2 separate regions of the Homo sapiens genome follow, and region 2 is linked to region 1. Evidence: promoter capture Hi-C in 16 types of primary human blood cells and fetal thymus (Javierre and others, 2016). All regions are on one chromosome and are shown on one strand. Each heading gives the region's core, a stretch centred on a gene start or on the middle of the fragment in contact. The rest is flanking DNA. Distances are from core to core; before and after follow the strand shown. Region 1 holds the start of NIPSNAP3B (nipsnap homolog 3B). Region 2 overlaps GRIN3A (glutamate ionotropic receptor NMDA type subunit 3A).

Region 1 (5,419 bases), core at 184-2,683:
TGTTAAACAAAATTATAGCTAGATAGGAGGAATAAGTTCTAGTGCTCTATACCACTTCAGGATAACTATAGTTAATAATATATAGTTTCAAATTGCTAGGAGGATATTGAATGTTCTCAACACAAATGATAAGCCCCCGGGGGAGTGGCTTCTGTGAGACCTAAATCCTCATCTGCCACAGAAGGAAGGCAACACATACTCTCCATAACTGAAAATGCAAGAAATAGCAGAAAATGACTATTATTTAAAAATACGGGCCAGGCGCAGTGGCTCGTGCCTGTAATCCCAGCACTTAGGGAGGCTGAGCCGAGAGGATCACCTGAGGTCAGGAGTTCAAGACCAGCCTGCCCAACATGGTGAAACGCCGTCTCTACTAAAAATAGAAAAATTAGCCAGGTGTCGTGGCGTGCGCCTGTAATTCCAGCTACTCAGGAGGCTGAGGCAGGAGAATCTCTTGAAACCGGGAGGCGGAGGTTGCAGTGAGCCAAGATCATGCCACTGCACCCCAGCCTGAGCGACAGAGCAAGACTCTGTCTCAAAAAAATAAAAAACATACGGAAACAGGTATTAGAAGAACAGCTTAAAATGTTGAAGGTGGTTAGTCTGGGGACCAGTACTCTGGGACTGGGAGGACTAGACCAGAGGTCGGCTGTTTTGCTCTTAAGGCTTACAGAACGATCTAGTTTCAAACTATCTATGTTTAACTTCGACTTTTTCCTATCAGGCTCGGTGCTGCTATTCCACTGAGCTCATGGAAAATTAAATCTTTATTAGGAGCCTTCCAAGATCACAGTGGGGTGGCAATGGGGACAGATAATGCAGAAAAGCGAAGGCTCACTGGTCTACAAATACACGTCTATCACAACCTGTAAAAGTTAACCCTGTCCCAGCCTGGCCAATATGGTGAAACTCCGTCTCTACTAAAAAATACAAAAATTAGCGGGGCGTGGTGGCGGGCGCCTGTAGTCCCAGCTACTGGGGAGGCTGAAGCAGGAGAATGGCGTGAACCCGGGAGGCGGAGCTTGCAGTGAGGCGACATCGCGCCAGTGCACTCCAGCCTGGGCGACAGAGCAAGACTACGTCTCAAACAAAGAAACAAGTTAACCCTGTCAACATCTCGACTTTAAATGCAAAGCACTGCACATGCACACGCTGAACACCTCCCCTTCCTTCTCCAGGGGCAACACAAGCACAACCGCCGCACATTTACGAATCTACACAACTGCGCATCGGAGCGAATGAGGTCAGGGCCCAGAAAGGTGGGGCAGGAACGATCCCAGCCTTCAGCTAATTCTGTCACCTCTAACGTCTGGGGCAAGAACGTTTCAGGAAACCAAGGGGGACCGAGGCTCAGCGCCGAAGAGAAAGACGCCAACTGCGGGACCTGTCGCGCCTCCCGCGCCGGGGTGGAGCTGACCCCGCCGAGTCCCGCCCCTGCCTGAGTTCGCCAGTGGTCCAGGAGCCGCTTTTTTCCACTCGGGAAGACTTCAGAGAAGTCTCACAAAGGACTCGGCTGGCTGCTTTTCTCAGTGCCGAAGCCGCGCCATGCTCGTTCTCAGAAGCGGCCTGACCAAGGCGCTTGCCTCACGGACGCTCGCGCCTCAGGTACTGGCCGCGGGGGCGCGCCCGAGCCCTGGCCGGAGGGGAGGGGAGGGGCGGGGGGTATTTCTGAAGCGTGCGAGCCACGCTCAGGCGCTCCCAGACCTGGGGCCCCGCGCCGCCGCCGAAGTTCTAACGCGGTCTCTGGAGCCGTCTGGCGCGCAAGGAGGAGGCTACAGGCCGGGGTCGTCTCGCTGGCAGTCGCTGTCAGAGGGGTTTTCTAACTGGATGCCAGTGTTTTTGTGATTTTTGTTTTTGTTTTTGAGACGGAGTCTCGCTCTGTCGCCCAGGCTGGAGTGCAGTGGCGTAGTCTCGGCTCAGTGCAACCTCCGCCTCCCGGGTTCAAGCGATTCTCCTGCCTCATCCTCCGGAGTAGGTGGAATTACAGGCGCCAGCCACCACGCCCGGCTAATTTTTTTTGTGTTTACTATTTAGTAGAGTCGGGGGTTTCACCATGTTGGTCAGGCTGGTCTCGAACTCCTGACCTCGTGATCCGCCCACCTTGGCCTCCCAAAGTGCTGGATTGCAGGCATGAGCCACTGTGCCCAGCCTGATGCCAGCTGTTTCTAGCCTAAATGCCACAACTCCCGGGACACCCCCGTGGCGCCAGCTGTTGCGTTTTTTTAGGATAACATCTCCAGATACAAATCTCCGAAAATCAACTTTAAAAGCAGTTATTAGAAATACCTCATTGGCCCATTTTCCGAGATAATAATATTTTTAAACTGTAGATACTAAGCAGTTTTTTATTTTCAGAATTTGATTAAACTGACCCAAAAAGAATGGCCATCAAAAGAAAGGATAGTTGCAGGTATTTTTTGGTATGAAGAAGGGTTTTCTAAGAAAACTAAGACACTTGGGCAATAAGGGCATAACTCATACTGGAGATGAATGAACTCAAGATAGACAATTATAATTAAGACGTTATGCACACAAACTACATAGACATTTGCATGTTGTAACCAAAAATATGTCAGTGAAAGATGCCTACTGAAACTGTTGCGATAGATTATTCTGGGTAGTGAGCCTCAGGAAATTGTCACATGCTAACCATGCCTAAATGAATGGATTTGTAAACTAGAATGCCACGGGAGTGGTCTGTGTATACACGTGTGTTTACATAAATATTTGCATGTACGTACATACAGACAGACTGGATAATTTCTGACAGGGCATTTGCTACTGAACATTAAGCTCACTCAGGCTCAGAGGGCCAGATTAGGACAGAAAATTTACCCATTGGGCATATGACTATTACAAAGGGTGGTTCTTAAAGGATAGTTCCATAAACTTGGTATAATTGAGTGCACTAAATGTACATACTTCTTGATATTGCATCTGTAATTAGAAACAATGATGGAGACAATTCTCATTTGTTGAGTTTTTTTCCTTTTCAGCCTTTATGCAGTATACACCCATAGTACAATGCAATTGGATAAGTTATAGCTTCCTTTTATATTAGTTACATTCCAGTCCTGTTTTTGACCGGTAGTCTTCATCAGTAGATTCAGGAAATACTTTGACCTGAATAGCCCTTCCTGTTTTTTTAGGAACCTTTTAAAAACAAGAGTTTTTTGTTAGTAAACGTATTTTTGGGCCTGCCAAAAGGCATGTGTACTTAATAAATTTTTTTCAATGTGTGGAACTAATACATATGGTATTGAGTAAGATGGAATATTGGCTAAACAGGGGAAAACCCTTTGTAAATTAAAGAGACTAAGTCTTAAATGTAGTTCTTCGGTAAAGGAGTATCATTATGATCCCACAGCCTTCTTGTGAGCAAATTCTCGTGAAAAAATGGCTAGAGGTAGACCCCTGCTAGGAAACAGTTGCTATATATTCATCAGAATTAAGAGTAGTTATCTTTATTGACATCTCTATGTAAACAAGTGTATATGGAGAATTGACAACAAAAGTAAACAATGGATAATGAGTCTATGTGTGTTCCTTGTACCAGACTCAGATTTGGTTGTAACCAAATCTGTAATTGTACCTTCCCAAGATATTTACATTTGTCTTACCTCCTTCAGGTGTGTTCATCTTTTGCTACGGGCCCTAGACAATACGATGGAACGTTCTATGAATTTCGTACTTATTACCTTAAACCTTCAAATATGAATGCGTTCATGGAAAATCTTAAGAAAAACATTCATCTTCGGACCTCTTACTCTGAATTGGTTGGATTCTGGAGTGTAGAATTTGGAGGCAGAACGAATAAAGTGTTTCATATTTGGAAGTATGGTAAAGAGTCATCCAGTTTTAGTATTCAGTATAGATTTTCATTCTGTTAAATGTAACATAAGACTTAGTTCTTGGATCTATATTACCATAGATACATACAGGTTAAGTAAGACTTTTTAAAAGCAATACCAAAAAAATAAATTTAGCAGATCTTCTTCCCAGTGGTACACCTCTAACCACCCCTTGCTTGAACTCTTATGTTATCATAAATGAGAAAACATGCAGTCTCATATATCAAACCATAAAATTGTGAATTAGACTTTAATCCTCAGAAAAATGTTAGAATCGTTTGCTATAAAGATAGCTCATGAAAAATTTAAAGCAGTAATTGTAAATGTTCAAGTGGGTTAAGATCACCGTTGGGCCTGCCAAAAGACATGTATATTTAATAAAAATGTTTTAAATGTGTAACTAATGTATATGGTATTGACGAAGATGGAATACTGGCTAAATAAGGGAGAAAGCTTTGTAAATTTATGAGACTCCTAATTGCAGTTCTTGGGTAAAGGAGTGTCATTAGGATAAGATAATTTTTTTTTTCTTATTATTGTTACAGCTAGGGCTGGATATCAGCATTTTTGCAGAAATAATTCACCCATTTGGGAGCTTTATAAAAATGGAGGTTTTTAAAGGATGATAGTTAACTTTTAAGCGTCACCCAACTCTGAGATTTAATAATTCTGTTATGTTTAGAGACCACTTCTTTTTTCATTTCTGTACCCCAGAGTTTCAAGGAATTCTTTCATACTACCCTAGGGAGGTAAGGAAAAGGAATGAGAGACAGTCCTTCCCATATTGAAGCTGACCTACCCCTGGTTTAGTAGAGGAAAGAGAACAAGTAACAAGAATCCCCAGAATGTTTGTTACTTCCATGTCTGTTCTTAACAGTCCACATCAGGACTTGAGGATACCTAAAGAACTTTTAATAATTTCATTTACTGTTTAGTGATCAGTGTCCAAAGTTAATAGTCATAAAGTAATTTAATATGAAAAGTGTTCATTCTATGCTTGACGTAACTCTTTAGTTTTTCCCTGTTATAATAAAACAGACCCTATTAAAACATAATTTATGCTTTAGATAAACCACAAGTTGAAACATGTCCCATTGAAAAAACTGCTAATAAAGTGTTTATAATTCATTTATATGCTTTAGATAAACCACATATATAATCCACTTATGTGCGTTAGGTGAGCCACAAGTTTAATTGTGTCCCATTAAACTGCTCGTAAAGTCTTTACAATTCACTTGTAAGATAGGTGTTATTCCTTATCCTCAGCATAAATCATATAATTCATTTACTATTAGTCTTAGGAGGCCCTAAAAGTAAATATACTATAGTTGTCCCTCTGTATTTGCAGGAGGTTGCAGGAGGTTGGTACCAGGAACCCCTGTAGATACCAGATTCAGCTCAAGTCCATTATATGAAACAGCATACTGTTTCCATCAAACCCACACACATCCTTCCATATACTTTAAAGCATCTCTAGATTATTTTTAATCCCTAATACAATATAGATACTATGTAAGTAGTTGTTATACTATATTATTTCACTTGTATTTTTAAAAAATATTTTTAAT
Region 2 (5,419 bases), core at 1,579-4,078, 3.2 Mb before region 1:
AGTATGTGTTTATTTGTTTATTGCCTATTTCCCCAGCAAAGTAGAATGTAAGCTACAGGAGGGCAGCACTTTTGTCCATTTTGCTCGATACATACTCTTGTTTAGAACAGTGCCCAGCACGGTGAATATTTTTTAAATGAATGAATGAAAGCATATGAAAACTAGGATTTTTTGTATAAAATAAATTTGCATAATTTCCCCCACCCCCGATCCCAAACAGTCTCATTATATCACAGAAGCTTCCTAGAACAGTTGTTTAAGAGAGAAGGGTGGAGATGGACATTCTCAATTAAAAGGAGAGGAAACAAGGCCCAGTTTTGCTAGCCTGACCTGATCATGCTAATATTCACCAATCTAGGGATCTACTGTTGAAACTGGGACAAAAAATTTTTTAAATTACTGAAGTAAAACACTGGAAACTGAATGCAAAAATTTCAGGAGGAATGTATTGATTTTGTTTTCTTAGGATCCTTTCTTTGGGGAACTGCCCTCTTCCTGCTTCATGTGGTTTTGGTGTATCTACCAATCACAGACTCCCTGCTCCCTGTTCACCAGGCAAAGCATGAGACTCAAGGCCAGTCAATGTGAATCTGAAACAGAAACACTGGATATCAAAGGTGTTTGGAGATGAGTCATTTCCAATGTCAGTGCCCCAAAGACATAGTCCCCTAGTTCCTGCACTAGCATCCTTGGAGTGCTGTGGTTCGAGGCTTCATCTGTCACTCTCTTTCTTACTTCAAAACATTGAGCTTTCCCGTTATTCTTTTGATAGGTTTTGCTTAAGTTTAAAAATCTGTTGCAGCCGGGCGCAGTGGCTCACGCCTGTAATCCTAACACTTTGGGAGGCCGAGACAAGTGGATCATCTGAGGTCAGGAGTTCGAGACCAGCCTGATCAACATGGTGAAACCCTGTCTCTACTAAAAATACAAAAATTAGTCAGGCATGGTGGCAGGTGCCTGTAGTTCCAGCTACTCGGGAGGCTGAGGCAGGAGAATTGCTTGAATCCGGGAGGCAGAGGCTGCAGTGAGCTGAAATTGCACCACTGCAATCCAGCCTGGGCAACAGAGCGAGACTCCATCTCAAAAAAAAAAAAAAAAAATCTGTTGCTTGCAACCAAATAATCTGATTCAATATATGTACTGTTTAAAGGATTAAGGTCCTCTAGCTCCGAGGTGTGAATATAACTTCTTTTGAGATAGACTGTATCCTGACGCAGATCTCAGAAATGAACGGGTGGAGCCTGTTTTAGGAAGTCTTCTCTGACAGGGTAAGGCTGTGTTGCTTTTGCCTGTCTCCAGCAGCCTAGTATATAGTAAGTTCAATAAAAAATAAAAAGCACATGTCTGAAAAGTAACTTAATTACATTTACTCTGACATTCCCTATTAAATATTTTTCCCCAGAGCAAAATGACTGCAAGAACCTGGGAAAATAATTGTATTTTTCAGTGACCTAATGCACTAAGCTTTGTATCATCTCCTCTCTGGATCTGCACAGCCAAATGCGATGTTCAAGAATTTTTTTCCTTAATAAGAGAGCTGGTGGCAGGGGGAGAAATAATGATTTTAATGAGAGGTAAGGAAAAGAAAAAGGCTGTGGTGCTTCTGAAATATGGATGACTCATAGATGCTTGGAAGCAGGACAAGGAAGAAGCAAATGCTATTTCTAATTTTGAAGACCTGGTATCTATTTTATTTATTTATTTATTTATTTATTGCCTCCTGATTATTTTGCCCAGAAGAATAGTTAGTTGCTCAAAAGAACTTGGCAGATTCATTGCTGTGTCTATACATATGGCCCCTTGTTGGGGAGAAGTAGGAGAATGATATCCACATGAAATGTGGGCTCCAGATGTACCAAAGACAGAGTTTCCCAGGTGAGAGAGTCTGGTTGAAGAGAGTTAGGTAAGATTGTGCGGTGCAATCATTTGGAATTAAAACATATATATTTAACAAGAATCATGAAGAGGGAGAAAAAAGATTCATTCAGAGAACCTGGAAGTTTCTCATTAACCAAGACATAGTGAAAGATCACACTTAACAAAAGAAACAGAAGAGGAGATAATTTATTAACACAAAATCCAGGGAGACACTGCATGAGCCTGAGTAGTGCTCACACATTTGGATAAACAAGGATTTTGACAGCACTCTCTGCATTCCTCTAACCTGGAAACTGCTTAGTGGCTCATCAACATGGCACTGCCCATGTTGCTGTGAAGATGCTTCTCTCTCCCTGTTTCTTGGGATTCTTGAGCCCCCATTTCTTTTAAGCTTGGGCGACCATCTTTTAGGGTTGAAATTGTACTTAATTTGCCACATTAGCTCTGTTGTGCAGTTTTTTGAAAAATTTATTATTAAAACGACTCAGAAAAATATTTTTAAAAACTAAATGTGAGATTACCCATAATCCTTGTACTATAAAACAATTACTTTCAATGCTCCATTTTCTCTTCTGAACAATGACCATATGCACACATATTCTTCAGAGTTCTAAACATAGGATATAACAAGTTTGCATTATGCTTTTAAAAGAACTTATTTTCTAACAAACTATTTTAATATTTCTAAAAATATTATTTTCTAAATATTATTTTATTTATTAACTTTAGTTGCCTAATACTATCACCTATTGTTTTTGTTATAATTGACTTGACTACTCCCAAACTGTGGTTGTTTAATTTTTTAAATATTATAATTTATGGTATATACGACAAATATTGCTACAATAAAAATTTTGTGTATAGTATTTTTTTTTCTTTTTTTGAGATGGCGTTTCACTGTGACTCCCAGGGCAGAATGTAGTGGAGCGATCTCAACTCACTGCAACCTCCGCCTTTCTGGTTCAAATGATTCTCCTGTTTCTGCCTCCCAAGTAGCTGGGACTAAAGGCATGTGCCACCACGCCTGGCTGATTTTTGTATTTTTTTAATAGAGATGGGGTTTCAGCATGTTGACCAGGCTGGTCTTGAACTCCTGACCTCAAGCGATCCACCTGCCTCGGCCTCCCAAAGTGCTGGGATTAAAGACGTGAGCCTCTGCACCTGGCCATGTATAGCATTTTAAAATATTTTTATTTCTTTGAGATATACATTGCAATGAGTGAGATTACCTGGTCAAAGGATACAACTGTTCTGATGACTTGTGATGTGTAAAATGACCCATAAAAAGGGTGAAAGCCATTCCCAATGCCACCAAAGATACTGCAATGCCTAGAAGGCTTCTATTTTTGCCAACTGTTTTATAATTATTCATTTTTCCTGTTTTAAATATTGTAATTTGTATTTATTGAATTAGCAAGCCTATTTTTCCATGTTTGTTTTACCTATCTCCTTTTGAATGAATCATATAATGACTTTTTTGCATATTTATTTATGCATATCAGACACAATGAAGCTTTTTTTTGAAAAACTGCTAACCCTTTTGCTAACATGTTATGTTTCTCCCTTTTTATGTTTTCTTTGTTTTGTTATATTTTATTATATAAAAGTTTGAAGTTTTACACAGCTATACTTATTTTGATTATTGTACATTTTTCTACTGTTTCAGGCATTAGAACATATTGATTATGGGGATAAATATTTTGTGTCCAGTGTTATATCTTTAAAAAATAGTGAACCCTTCAGTCCATTTTGAACTTCTGTGCCAAAGAGTGTAACTATGTTAATTTTTCTTCACTGAAACTCTTAATTTCATCTCAATATTTCAGAGACTCCTTAGTCAATAAAAAGCTACCTCCATATTAGAGTGACCTGCATTTCTTTGTAGTAATTTAGGTTTTTATTTAAAATCTTTAAAGGTTTTATTTAAAATATTGGTAATTTTTAAAAAACATTGTGAGAACAAACACCATGTAAAACCAGTAACAACGAAAGCAAACATTTGTAGGTCAGAGTTAGCCTGTGAGTAGTCAGACTGTCTTCTGATCTACACAGCTTTACTGCTACTACGGTGACCCTTCAGTGTTAGAATTTTTCATTATGAATCAGCTAATTCCTGATGATTCATGATTTATAGTTCACAGTCATTGGCTACTGGGGTAGGTACGGTAGTTGACACGGCAGCAGAGAAGTCCGGTCTGATTCTCAGTCTGGTGGCCTTGTTCCTCTACCATAATGACACTCTATTTATTTATTTATTTATTTATTTATTTATTTATTTATTTATTTATTTTTTTGAGATGGAATCTCGCTCTGTCACCCAGGCTGGAGTGCAGTGGTGTGATCTCAGCTCACTGCAACCTCTGTCTCCCTGGTTCAAGCAATTCTCCTGCCTCAGCCTTCCGAGTAGCTGGGATTACAGGCACGTGCCACCACGCCCAGCTAATTTTTGTATTTTTAGTAGAGATGGGGTTTCACCATGTTGGCCAGGATGGTCTCGATCTCCTGACCTCGTGATCTGCCCGCCTCGGCCTCCCAAAGTGCGGGGATTACAGGCATGAGCCACCGCGCCCGGCCAACACTCTTTTTAAAAACATCCGAGCCTCCTCCTGTTCAAAGTATTCAAAATAGATATAACACCATAGCAGACTAACTACCTACTCTATCTCTTAACAGAAAGAAAGAGTCAGTACTATAAGTAGAGAATGGAATTTATACTTTTTTTAAATAAAAAATTGTCTTCATTTAAAAAATTCATACTGTTCCTCAGACAGTGGCTTAGGAATTTGTAATTAACAAAAATGTCTGGAAGATATTTTTTCCTTGAGAATGTTTCTAAAGCATGAGAGAATATACACCAAAGCTAAATTGAATTTGCTGAGGCCATATTTTTTTCTCTGTTTCAAAAAGAGTGTCTAGTGGTCTGGGGATTGCAACATATGGTACAGAGCAGACATAATCCAATTAACATAGGATTCATAACAACATATTGTGACTGATCTCTATAGCCTCAGAGCATATTGGTTTGCGTTATCGGTTTAATCTAAATATTGTCACCTGTTTCTCAAGATGAGCCAAAGGTGGAACATGGCTTAAAACTGTCTCGTCTAACATATCTGTTTCATTGCAATGCATAGAACCAAAGAGGTGGAGGCTGCTTGTTCTTTGACAAGCAATTTACCTCTTTGGGCTTCAGTTTCATCATTTATGAAAACTGAGGCTTGATTTGATGACATGGTTAAGACTATAATAAATAATTTGTAACAGGTAGATATAGGAGCTATAAAAATAAGATAAATGCAGAGAGGTAGAAATAAAGCTCAGGATTTGGGGTCAGAAAGCCTGGTTCAAATCCATGCTTTGCCACTTACCAGCTGGGCGACTTTGGAGAAGATGCTAGATCTCTACATGGCATCATCTGTAATGCTGAAATAATGGCACCAGACTCACAGTGTTGTTATGATGATTAAATGATATGTATAACAAAGGTTATATCAAAAGTTATGGGACAATTGCTCAATAAATGTTTATTATCATCATCCCA

Evidence for each region. Contacts are between HindIII fragments. The CHiCAGO score rates a contact against its expected background, and 5 or more counts as called.
Region 2: a fragment that was not itself captured here is called in contact with the fragment with the promoter of NIPSNAP3B in region 1 in 1 of 17 cell types (M1 macrophages); the score reaches 6.7 in M1 macrophages.

The regions. Positions count from the first base shown.
Region 1 is chr9:104,762,696-104,768,114 of GRCh38, forward strand. NIPSNAP3B (nipsnap homolog 3B) reads left to right here and starts at 1,434. Exons shown (of 6, transcript NM_018376.4): 1 at 1,434-1,605; 2 at 3,630-3,840. The coding sequence starts at 1,546. RefSeq lists silencers at 1,163-1,362, 1,560-1,749. The HindIII fragment of the contact is 4,394 bases long and covers 1-4,302 here.
Region 2 is chr9:101,586,228-101,591,646 of GRCh38, forward strand. The region is part of intron 6 of GRIN3A (glutamate ionotropic receptor NMDA type subunit 3A); the gene reads right to left. PPP3R2 (protein phosphatase 3 regulatory subunit B, beta) reads right to left here. Exons shown (of 1, transcript NM_147180.4): 1 at 5,377-5,419. Among named protein-coding and RNA genes, the nearest start is that of PPP3R2, 6.0 kb to the right of the region's middle. RefSeq lists an enhancer at 494-543. The HindIII fragment of the contact is 1,122 bases long and covers 2,268-3,389 here.